Linked DNA regions of Homo sapiens: regions 1 and 3 are each linked to region 2. Evidence: promoter capture Hi-C in 16 types of primary human blood cells and fetal thymus (Javierre and others, 2016). All regions are on one chromosome and are shown on one strand. The core of a region is centred on a gene start or on the middle of the fragment in contact, and the rest is flanking DNA. Distances in the headings are between cores, read along the strand shown. Region 1 overlaps RAPGEF1 (Rap guanine nucleotide exchange factor 1). Region 2 holds the start of POMT1 (protein O-mannosyltransferase 1). Region 3 holds the start of LOC105376300 (a long non-coding RNA gene).

The links. The method cuts DNA at HindIII sites, captures the fragments that hold promoters and counts their contacts. A CHiCAGO score of 5 or more calls a contact.
Region 1: a contact is called between a fragment that was not itself captured here and the fragment with the promoter of POMT1 in region 2, in 1 of 17 cell types (neutrophils). The highest score is 5.9, in neutrophils.
Region 3: a fragment that was not itself captured here is called in contact with the fragment with the promoter of POMT1 in region 2 in 1 of 17 cell types (non-activated CD4 T cells); the score reaches 6.1 in non-activated CD4 T cells.

Annotation. Positions count from the first base shown.
Region 1 is chr9:131,730,888-131,734,379 of GRCh38, reverse strand. All of the region lies in intron 1 of RAPGEF1 (Rap guanine nucleotide exchange factor 1), which reads left to right. Among named protein-coding and RNA genes, the nearest start is that of RAPGEF1, 7.4 kb to the left of the region's middle. RefSeq lists silencers at 504-798, 1,175-1,224. The HindIII fragment of the contact is 9,723 bases long and covers 1-3,492 here.
Region 2 is chr9:131,500,934-131,504,779 of GRCh38, reverse strand. POMT1 (protein O-mannosyltransferase 1) reads right to left here and starts at 1,862. Exons shown (of 20, transcript NM_001077365.2): 1 at 1,707-1,862; 2 at 440-591. The coding sequence starts at 561. RefSeq lists enhancers at 272-341, 352-431, 912-971, 343-1,208, 1,209-2,076 and 1 more and silencers at 1,542-1,691, 1,762-1,961. The HindIII fragment of the contact is 12,581 bases long and covers 1-3,676 here.
Region 3 is chr9:131,349,006-131,352,741 of GRCh38, reverse strand. All of the region lies in intron 3 of LOC105376299 (a long non-coding RNA gene), which reads right to left. It overlaps LOC105376300 (a long non-coding RNA gene), which reads left to right and starts at 2,311. Exons shown (of 4, transcript XR_930401.3): 1 at 2,311-2,571; 2 at 3,590-3,694. RefSeq lists an enhancer at 141-642. The HindIII fragment of the contact is 549 bases long and covers 1,643-2,191 here.

The DNA of each region.
Region 1 (3,492 bases), core at 518-3,017, 230 kb before region 2:
ATGCATTTATAGACTACCTCATTTCATTTCATCCTCACAACAGCCCAGGGGGTGAGGGCAGGGCGGAGTATCCCTCTTTTGCCCCTCAGGGCAGCTAAGGCCCAGGGAAATTTGGTTGTTTGCCCAAGGTCATGCCCTGGAGAAGTGGAATGGGGAACCGGCCCCCTTTCTTGCCTTTATAGAGCACTGGTTAGAGCCTCCCTGGTTGCTGGGGACACAGCTTTCCATCTTAATTCTTCAGGCTTCTCAATCTCTTTTCTGATCTTTGAAAAAAAAGATCTACCAATGAAATTAAGGGAGGCTCACTACAGTCTTTAGACTGCGTCTGATACTCGTAATACTAGTCACATTAACAGTGCTGTAGAGAGATAAGAAATAGCACTAATGCCAGCTAAGTGTGTTTTTAGAAAAATCAACCACAGCAACCCCAAATGTTTCCTGGTCTCCAGAGCAGCTGTTGGCAGAGGCGGTTTGAATGGGATTCCTTGTAGCCAAGAGACCTTATAGGAGGTCTGTAGAGATGAGTCATGTGTGAGCTTGCAGAAAAATGTCTCCCAAAGTAGCCCGGATTGGAGATTGCCTTGAGTGCCAGGCTGGGTCTTACCTCAGGCCAGCTGAGCGTGTTCCCCATGGCCAGGATAAGATCACGCTCTGGAAAGAGGAGAGGCCTGACAACCCACCGCCTGCCCCACCCCGCGGCCGCCTCGCCGCCGGGACAGGTGTTCCTCTGACTCGTCACCCGTCTTGCCCCAAAGGCTGTTTTATGAGTAAATAAATAAAACCCACCGTTTGTGAATTATTAAGGGATCTGTCATCCAGCAGGCCAGTCATCTTAGTTTCTGGTCATCTGTTTGAGAACATCTTAGTTGTGTCCTTGGGTGATTCTTACCCTTTCCTGGGGCTTATTTTCCCCATCAGTGCCAGGAAGGAGTGGGACTCAAAAGGAGCGCTCCTCTGTTTGTGTTTTTAAGCTGTAGCCACTGCCCCCGCCAACCCCGCACCACCCCCCCCCCCGCCCCCGCCCCGGCTTTTTTAAATTTTAAGTTCTGGAATACATGTGCTGAACGTTCAGGTTTGTTACATAGGTATACATGTGCCGTGGCGGTTTGCTGCACCTATCAACCCGTCATCTAGGTTTGAAGCCCCGCATGCGTGACTGCAGGCCCTTTTTTATACATAAGAAGGCCATTAGGTAACCACTAATGGGGAAGCCTCTTTGAATGCAGTCCTTCCTGCTTAGCTGTGGCCGAGGCTCCTCCTTGGACCCTCCACCCCAAACACAATGTGAAAACCCACTTCCTCGATGCTCTCACAGCTGCCTCTACCAAAATCAACTTCCTCTGGGCTCTTTGTGCCTTCTCTTCCTCTAACATATAGTAAATTCCATGGAAATGCCCCAGATCAATGCTTGAGTAGAATGATGTTTCACTCATTCAAAATCAAAGCCCCAGTTTCCTTTCTGCAAGTTAAAAAATCAACAAGTGAAATGTTAAACAGATGATTAGCTCCGTGAGGGAGTGTGTCTACCACTGCGGTGCCATTACGGTGCCTTGAACGCAATAGGTGCTCAGTAAATACTTACTAAAAGAATGAGTGAATTTAGTTAATATTATCATAGAATGAATTTTAGTTTCTGGTTCCAAGTCTCAAATTATCTTTAGACGTAGCTTATTGTGGTTTCAAATTGCCAATTAGGATGTTTCTTGGTACATTAGTAGGACCAATATCTGATCAGTGGTGTGCAGTTAGTTGGGGGTTCTGTGTTTTCCTGTAGTCCTCTGAACACTAATGATGAGGTTAGGATCAAATTCCCAGAACACCACTGGGAGAACGCCAGGACACCGTGAAGGCTGAGCCGCCACTCGGTTCTGATGCCGCATCCATTGGTCAGTGCACGTTCTTTGAGCTTCCACTTGAGTGCACGTTCTTTGAGCTTCCACTTGAGTGCATGTTCTTTGAGCTTCCACTTGTAGTGACTGCCTGGTTCTTTGGGATGTGCAGGAGCAAAGCGCTCTTAGGTAATGCTCGTTCTGCCCTGTGTTTACAAACCAAGGCCTGTGCCAGCTCTACTCAGCCTGACACCCATAATGAGCACCATCCCAGGAATCCCTGTCCCTACTTGTTATTTTTTTTTTTTTCAGTTGGCCTTTGAATGTGATTTAGGACTGGCTTCCTGCAGCATTACTCTCTTTTCCCAGGATGACTGTGCAGCGTGTGCTGTCTAGGGCTGGGGTGCAGGCTGTTGGTGTGCCTCTGGCACCCCCTTCCTTCTTTGTCAAGAGGCATGGGCAGTATTTTCTTGCTACTTCCCCCTCCTCTGTGAGCTAAGGTACAGGGGGGGAGGTTCATCTGAATTTATTAGAAATCTGCTGTCTGCTGGTCACAATTCCTTTCTCCCACTTTCTTCTCCCAGGCTGTAGTTTGAAAGACAGGTGACAATTCTCTGAACCCAAGTCCCACCCTGCAGTCTGGACTGCTGCTTCCCGGAACACCACGACTCCTGTAACAGCTTAGACTTCTGTCCCCACAGTCCCTTAGCAGCAGCTTTCTCTTTGCTTTTCACTGGCTTGCCCAAACCACACAGTGACTTTACTGCATATTAAGTTTTGTGATCAGGCGATTCTGCAGTGCTTTTAAAGCGTAGAAATGGAGCACTGAGCACAGGATGCTGTGTGGTTTGCCCAGGGCTGGGTTCAGAGGGGCGGATTTCAGGCATTTGCTCTATAGCTTTTAAAATTTGTGCCACTGATGTGGACCTGACAGATGCGATTCCCAGCCACACACTGTATTGTTAAAAACGGAGCAGGAGTGTGACACTGACAGTAACTGAGAGAAGGAAGGACATGGAATGAGAAGAGAGGACAGCTGACATCCAGTGGAATGTGACCGTGTTAAATAGCCACTTAGCTGACCCCAAACGAGCAAACAAACAAAACCCCTGGTTGGAAACAGTGGTTGTATTTATTTGCTGGTTATCACATGCGCCCATCCTCCTTCAAGTGATGGTTCTGAATAAATAGATGGATGATTGTTCATGAGTCATGGAATTGGCTACTCTCAACCCCTCCTTTCAATAATAAATACAAATAATAGTAGTAGCTGATGTTCATTAGGCACTTACCACGTGCTGTACCAGGCTCGCTTCTGTATATTTTACACTTGTGGTTGCATTTAATCCTTACAATAGGAGAAAGGTACTGTTAACTGTTCTCATCCTACAGAGGAGGAGACTAAGACACAGAGCTTTTCTTTGAGACCTGAAAGAGTTAACATTTGCACATAGTCATATACTGAGTTGGGGCAAAGTTAGGACTAAAGCCCATCTGACTATTCCCCATGCATCTATATTTTTATTGATTCTGATATTATTCTCTTGGCTGTGTGACTTGGGTGAAAATGAGCCTTCATGTTTCCAGGGACCCCTCTGCCACAGAGGCAGCTGCTGCACTAACAGGACACCCCATCATCCTGAGGATTCCTTCAGAAGACAGC
Region 2 (3,846 bases), core at 613-3,112:
CACACACACACACACACACACACATACACACATTAATCAGTTAATAAAGAGCCCTTCAATAATAACAGCAATCACTTCCCATTATGACAAAAACACATTCTAAAAAGTGCTCTCAACAGTGAAGACTTACTTCCAAATCCATTAATCCTCTGCCGTCCAGACTTTAAAACTGTTACTTAAGGCTGGCAACCAGATTTTCCTCTACTGCACCCCTTTAATGGGCCAAATTTCACCTGTTACAGACTCAGAAGGCAAGACCTAAAAGGTGTACTCTGCTGGGGCTGTCCTGGGGACAGACTGGTCTCTCCTCTCACTGCCAAAAACACCTATCACCAAGAAGCCAGGATTTCACTCTCCCATTTATGCTATTCAGTAAGGGCGCCTCCTGTCACAAAGTACAATTCTAGATTCACCCTGGGAATGGAGTCATTTAGCTTACACCACAGCCCGCGGGTAGGTGAGTCGCCACAGCCGGCTCAGTAACCCCATCCCAGTCAGGGCCACAAGGCTCAAGTTGATGTCAGCCGTCACCACTACAGGGCGCTTCAAAAATCCCCACATCTTGTAGAAAAGCGGGCTCAGGCAGACGCCCTAGAAAAGAAGGGAGGAGCCGTGGTCCATGAGGGCTCACGAGAGGCTACAGAAGGGATCCCCAGCCACCCGGCTCCCGGACACACGAGGAGAACCACAGCACAGCCGGGCTGCTGAGAAAGACCGAAGTTCCTGGAGCCTTGGTTCAGGTAGACATGTGGGGTGAGGGGCACTAGCAGTGAACTCGGGTGGGAATTCAGGGGATCTCAGGACTGGACATTCACTCCTTTCAACAACTCATTCCACAAAACCTGCCGAGCACGTCTTGGGCGCGAGAACACTGCTAAGGAACGCCAGGGTTTCTCCCCTCCCTCCCCGACGACCAGAAGCCCACAGTGCGGCCACAGCTACCTGACCCTGGGCAGCTCCTGGGTGCCATCTCAGCTGCTTACAGCCCAGGGACCCCAACCTGGCCGAGCCTCGGGGCCTCCTCATCTCTCCTCAAGGATGCATCTGCCCCCAGTGCCTCCCTGCCTTCTATCCCAGCGGCACATCATCCCCGGGTGCTCCCTTTCTCGCCTGGAGGGTGCATTTGCACCCTGCGCCCCCACGTTCTCCTCCAGGCTTCATCTTCCCTTGAGCTCCGCTTCTCTTGAGGCTGCATCAGGCCTGGGACACCCTGTCTCACACCAAAGCCGCATCTGGCCGTTGGCGCCCCGCTGGTCTCCTCAGGCCCCATCTACCCTGGACGCGCCCTTCCCTCCCTGAGCTGCATCTGCCTTGAGCGCCTTCGTCCCAAAAGGTCCCATCTGTCCTGGGAGTGCCTCCTCTCCCCTTGCAGACCGCATCTCCCTGGCCGGCCCTTCTTCCCCACAGGCCGCACCTGTCCCGTCCACCAACTCCCGAGGCTGCGTCGGCCCCAGCTCCGTCCTCACCCTGAGACTGCACCCGCAGCACGCCCTTCCTCCCTAGGGCTGCACGCGCCACGGAGTTCTTACTTCGGGGCTCGGCCGCCCGAACGCCGCATCTGCCCGGGCCCGAACCCCGCCCCCAGCTCCGGAAAGACGGGGACGCCCCCGGCCCCAGCCCGTCCGCAAGCCAGGGACCCGCGTCCGGCACTGACGGACTCCCCCAAGTCCGGGCTGGGCTCTCGTCCCCGGTGTCCCCAAATGTACCCGCGTTTCTCCGAGTCCACACAGAGCCGCGCCCGGCTCCCGGCAACGCCTCGGAACCGTCCGACTGGGCCGACGGTTGGGGGTGAGGCCGCTCGGCACTCCGCACCACCCACCGCCCTGCTCAACGTTCGATTCACCGAGCCTGCGGGGCCAGACGGGCAGCAGCGCGCGTGCGCACTGGGAGAGGGTGACGCGCGTGCGCAGCGGGCGAGGGCGCCGGTCCCGGAGGAGAGGCAGGTGTGAAACGCGGCGACCTCCCCTCTCTCGGGTGCTACTGTTTTGTGTGCCAGGATTTCTGTGTACTCTAAGCAGACGTGCAGATTTTAAAAAGCGCAGTGGGCTCCCACCCATCTTCTGCTCCTTGCTTTTTCACTCCATCTGGCGTGAAGATCTTAATTCTGCGTCTGCACAACGGCGTTCTGCCGGGCGCGCCAGTTTGCTCCTAGTTTTTTTCTTTTCTTTTCTTTTCTTTTTTTTTGAGACGGAGTTTCGCTCTTGTTGCCCAGGCTGGAGTGCAATGGCGCGATCTCGGCTCACCGCAACCTCCGCTTCCCGGGTTCAAGCGATTCTCCTGCCTCAGCCTCCCGAGTAGCTGAGATTGAAGGCGCACGCCACCACGCCCGGTTAATTTTTGTATTTGTAGTAGAGACAGGGTTTCACCATGTTGGCCAGGCTGGTCTCGAACTCCTGACCTGAAGTGATCCGCCCACCTCGGCCTCCCAAAGTGCTGGGATTACAGGCGTGAGCCACTGCGTCCGACCTTAATTTTTTTTTTAAGACACGGGGTCTCGCTCTGTCGCCCAGGCTGGAGTACAGTGGCAGGACCACGGCTTGCTGCAGCCTCGACCTCTCTGCCCGAAGCGATCCTCCCTCCTCGGCCTCCAGAGCAGCTGAGACCACAGGCACGTGCCCCCACGCCCGCGGGCGCTCCTAGTTTCCTTGCCGAAAAACATCGATGCCACGATCCTGCTTGCACATACATCTAGCGGTGAAGTGGCTGAGGGTAAGGGCATTTAAAACGGACCTAGGGCCGGGGGCGGTGGCTCACGCCTGTAACCCCAGCACTTTGGGTGGCCGAGGTGGGAGGATCCGTGAGCCCGCTTGAGTCCAGGAGAGCCTGGGCAACACAGCGAGACCCCGTCTCTACAAAAAAATACAAAAATTAGCGGGGCCCCTTGGCGTCTGCCTGCAGTCCCAGCTACAAGGGAGGCTGAGGCAGGAGATCACTTGGGGCAGAGAGGTCGAGGCTGCAGTGAGCCTTGGTCTCACCACTGCACTCCAGCCTGGACTACAAAGTGAGACCGTCTCAAAACAAAAAACAAAACCAAAAAAACCTGGACATCAGTGGGGGCTGCATGACCATCAGAGGCTCCAGTGGGGGCATCTCCCCTAAACTCCGTGGCAGAAGACTGGAGGCTTCTTCCTCCATTCCCAGGGCTCCTCCTCATCCATCAGCCTCTCCAGCCCCCTCTGCTGAGGGTCAAGAGCCTTCCCAAAGGCCTGCTTTGGAGCAGACATGGTACTTTTGGTTGGGTCAATGCACCCCTTCCCATGTTTTCCCTGAACAGTCGGCACCCAGAGCAGGGTAACTGACAGCAACGCAACCAGGCTGATGGATCACTCTTCTCAGCCTCGCTCCTTCTTGATCTCCTGGTCTATTTGTATGTTAATCTATACAGACCAAAAGGGCACACTGCAGGTTTAATAACCTTCATTATGGTTCTTGGCTGCCTGCAAGACTTTTTTTCCATGTTGGGCAACATAGCATTAGATGACACCAGTTAGAATTTCGTGGTTACTTCTTTATGGCTTACCCTTGAGGGGTTATGTGACTCACCCAAGATCCCACAGAGAGGCAAGGAGCTGGGGCTCACCTGGGTTTGTGGCCAGAGCCTGCAGGCAACTGTATTTACAGTGGGCAGGGAGGGTTCCCTGGGCCCCAGGAGGGAGTGGGGCTGGGCTGTTAAGCTTTGGTTCATGCCATGCTAACAGTGGTGGTGCCTCAGGACTTACAGCCTCCATCTTGCAAGCCCCCAACCTTAGGACTAGCCTCTTTCAGGGCTGGTCTCCGTTTGAGATTTTGTGAGCCACCTGTCCCTAGGGAGCAGTAAATCAGGGCAGTGAGTGTGGCTAGTTAAAG
Region 3 (3,736 bases), core at 668-3,167, 150 kb after region 2:
TTAGTAGAGATGGGATTTCTCCATGTTGGCCAGGCTGGTCTTGTACTCCTGACCTCAGGTGATCCACCCACCTCAGCTTCCCAAAGTGCTGGGATTACAGGCGAGAGCCACCACACCCAGCCTTGTTTTTTTTTTTTGAGACAGAGTCTTGCTGTGTCACCCAGGAGTGCAGTGGTGCCATCTCAGCTCACCGCAACCTCCGCCTCCTACTCTCAGGCGATCCTCCCACCTCAGCCTCCCAAGTAGCTGGGACTACAGGTGCAAGCCCCCACACCTGGCTAACTTTTTGTATTTTTTGGTAGAGACGGGGTCTTGCCATGTTGCCCAGGCTGGTGTTGAACTCCTGGGCTCAAGTGATCTGCCCACCTTAGCCTCCCAAAGGGCTGGGATTACAGGCATGAGCCACCAAGCCCACTGGCATTATTATCACATATCTCAGCTTCATGCATGTTATTGCCCCTGAAAACCTTCTAGGTGGTCAAGATGTGGAGGTGGACAACAGTGATACTGATGATTCTATCCCTGTGTAGGCCTAGGCTCATGTGTGTGCTAATGTCTTTGTTTTGTTTTGTTTAAATAAGAGACAGGGCCTCACTGTGTTGCCCAGACTGGGTTCAGGTCATCCCCTTGCCTCAGCCTCCCGTAGGTGGGACTGCAGGCATATCTTACCTCACCTGGCTTGTGTCTCAGTTTTTAACAAAAAACTTTTAAAAGTAAAAAAATAGGCCAGGTATGGTGGCTCACACCTGTAATCCCAGCACTTTGGGAGGTTGAGGTGGTTGGATCACAAGGTCAGGAGATTGAGACCATCCTGGCCAACATGGTGAAACCCCGTCTCTAATAAAAATACAAAAATTAGGCGGGTGTGATGGCGCGTGCCTGTAATTCCAACTACTCAGGAGGCTGAGGCAGGAGAATCACTTGGACCTGGGAGTTGGAGGTTGCAGTGAGCCAAGATCACGCCACTGCACTCCAGCCTGGTGACAGAGCGAGACTCCGTCTCAAAATAAATAAATAAATAAAAATAAAAAATAAAAGTAAAAAAATAAAAAATAAGAAATTTTAAAAATAGAAAAAAGATTATAGAATAAGGATATAAAGAAAATATTTTTGTACAGCTATGCAATATATTTGCATTATAAACTAAGCATTATTGTAAGAGTGAAAAAGTTCAAAAAAGTTTATAAAGTAAAAATTTTAAAAGTTACATTAAGGGTTAATTTATTATTGAAGAAAGACTTTTTTTTTTTTAAGTTTTTAAAATTTTTCACATACAGACAGGGTCTTATTATGTTGCCCAGGCTGGTCTCAAAGGAATCCTCTAATCTTAGCCTTCCAAAGTCCTGGGATTACAAGCATGAGCCACCATGCCCGGCCAAGAAAGAATTTTTTTTTTTTTTTTGAGGCAGGATCTTGCTCTGTGGACCAGGCTGGAGTGCAGTTGCACGATCATGGCTCACTGCAGCCTCCAACTCCTGGGGTCAAGCAGTTTTCCAAACTCCTCCTGGGCCTCCTAAAGTGCTGGGATTACAGGCCTGAGCCACCATGCCCGGCCAGCCACTGTTCATTATCAGCGGCAGTACACAGCTCTTCTCTCCCAAGGCTGGGGTATCTAAGAACAGGCTTCCCTCATAGCTAAGCTTCAGGGCCACCCCAGCGCCAGAATAACCACATTCTGCAGGGGAGAAATCAGGACGTCCCCAGCCACAGTGGTGCCAGCCTCTGACCACACTCTTTCAGGCTGGGGGTGAAGCAGTCGATAAGGACCAGCCCTGTCCCTGGCCTGAGTCATAGTTTGTTTCCCGGGCCTTTCCATGAAAGGCTCCACCGTGGCCGGGCGCAGTGGCTCACGCCCGTAATCCCAGCACTTTGGGAGGCCGAGGCGGGCGGATCACGAGGTCAGGAAATCGAGACCATCCTGGCTAATAGGGTGAAACCCCGTCTCTACTAAAAATGCAAAAAAAAAAAAAATTAGCCGGGCGTGGGCGTGGTAGTGGGCGCCTGTAGTCCCAGCTACTCGGGAGGCTGAGGCGGGAGAAAGGCGTGAACCCGGGAGGAGGAGCTTGCAGTGAGCCGAGATCGCGCCACTGCACTCCAGCCTGGGCGACAGAGCGAGACTCCGTCACAAACAAACAAACAAACAAACAACAAGCAAACAAAAAACAAGAAAGGCTCCACCGTGACCTAAGCTTTCTCCATGCTCTGGGCTCAGGGATGGGGTGATGCTGTCTCAATCAGGCCTCCAAGGCTGCTCTTGGGGTGGCTCCGGGCCTCATGGCTACACAGAGGGGAAGAGGGGTTGAGCCGCAGAGAGATTAGAAGCTGGGAAATGGAGCCCACAAGGAAAGACTGAGTCCACGGACTGGGGAGCGCCGGGTAGAATTGGAACATCTCCCCCAGGGCGGAAGGAGAGCAGGAACAGCCCCAGCGGAACAGCCGTAGCCGGGCCATCGTCCTCAGACTTGCATCTCCCTGCAAGCGCCCGGGCCTTCCTGCCTGTCAGCCTTGCACTCGCAGCTCCCTCTGCCGGCCACACTCTTCCTCCCTCCTTTCTGGTCAAGTCCCGCTCAGGTCTGGGGGCTCTGCTTCACTGTCACTCCCCCAGGGAAGCCCTCCTTGGCGACCGCCGCTCCACACGCCCTCATAACGCCATGGGCTTCTCCTTCCGAGCCCCACTACCATGGCTATGACCTGGCGAAGTGGCCATTTATATGTTTCAACATGAGTCTCCTCGGCTAGACCGTGAGCTTGTTGGGGGAGGGAAGAGGTCTGTCCTGTCCATGGCTGATTTCCAGCTGGGTGCTCAGCGCGCAGTTCCTGTTTGCTGAGTGCAGGAAGGACCTCAGCCCTTTCCCCAGGGACCCGGGAACCCATGAGCTGAGGTCCTGGTTTGGGGCCATTGCCACTTGTCCCCTTTCCATCCCGTCCATTCTGGGGAGGGGCTGCCTGTGCCATCAGGGGATTTTGCATCTTTTCCTGGGGAGGGAAAGGTGCCACCCCTAGCAGCCTGGCACCCCCAGGCTGGAAGAGCAGAAAGCCTCAGACTCCAGGAGGAGCAGGTGGCGCCAGAAAGGCCACACATCCTCAGGGATGTAGACCTTCACTCAGCCCTCGAGCCTGGGCTTGGGCTCAGGGCTCAGGCTTCCTACCTGAATGCAGCACACCCCGCCCATGGGGTTGTCTCACCCAGAAAGTAAACCTGAGTCTGATGAAGCCTCTAGAGCTGCACTGTCCCATCCAGAAGCTGCTAGCTAATTAATTCTAATTAATAACAACTAAAATTGAGGACTCACTTCCTCTATCACACTAGTCACTTTTTTGTTGTGTGTATGTGAGACAGGGTCTTGCTCTGTTGCCCAGGCTGGAGTGCAGTGGTGCAATTTTGGCTCACTGCAGCCTCAAACTCCCAGGCCTCAAGTGATCCTCCCACCTCAGCCTCCTAAGTAGCTGGGGCTACAGGTGTGCACCACCACGCCTGGGTTATTTTTAAATTTTTTGTAGAGATGGGGGTGGCGGGGTCTCCCTATGTTGCCCAGGCTGGCCTCCATCTCCTGGGCTCAAACACTCCTCCCTTCTCGGCCTCCAAAAGCTCTGGGATTACAGACATGAACCAGTGTGCCCAGCCCCCTCCCATTTTCCAGGGAGCCTGCTGCCGCCCAGCCTCCCTGGAGCTTGCTGTGCTGTTCAGGAGCAGGTGAAGAGGCCAAGAGGGTTGGGGGATGAGGGAGGCAGAGGG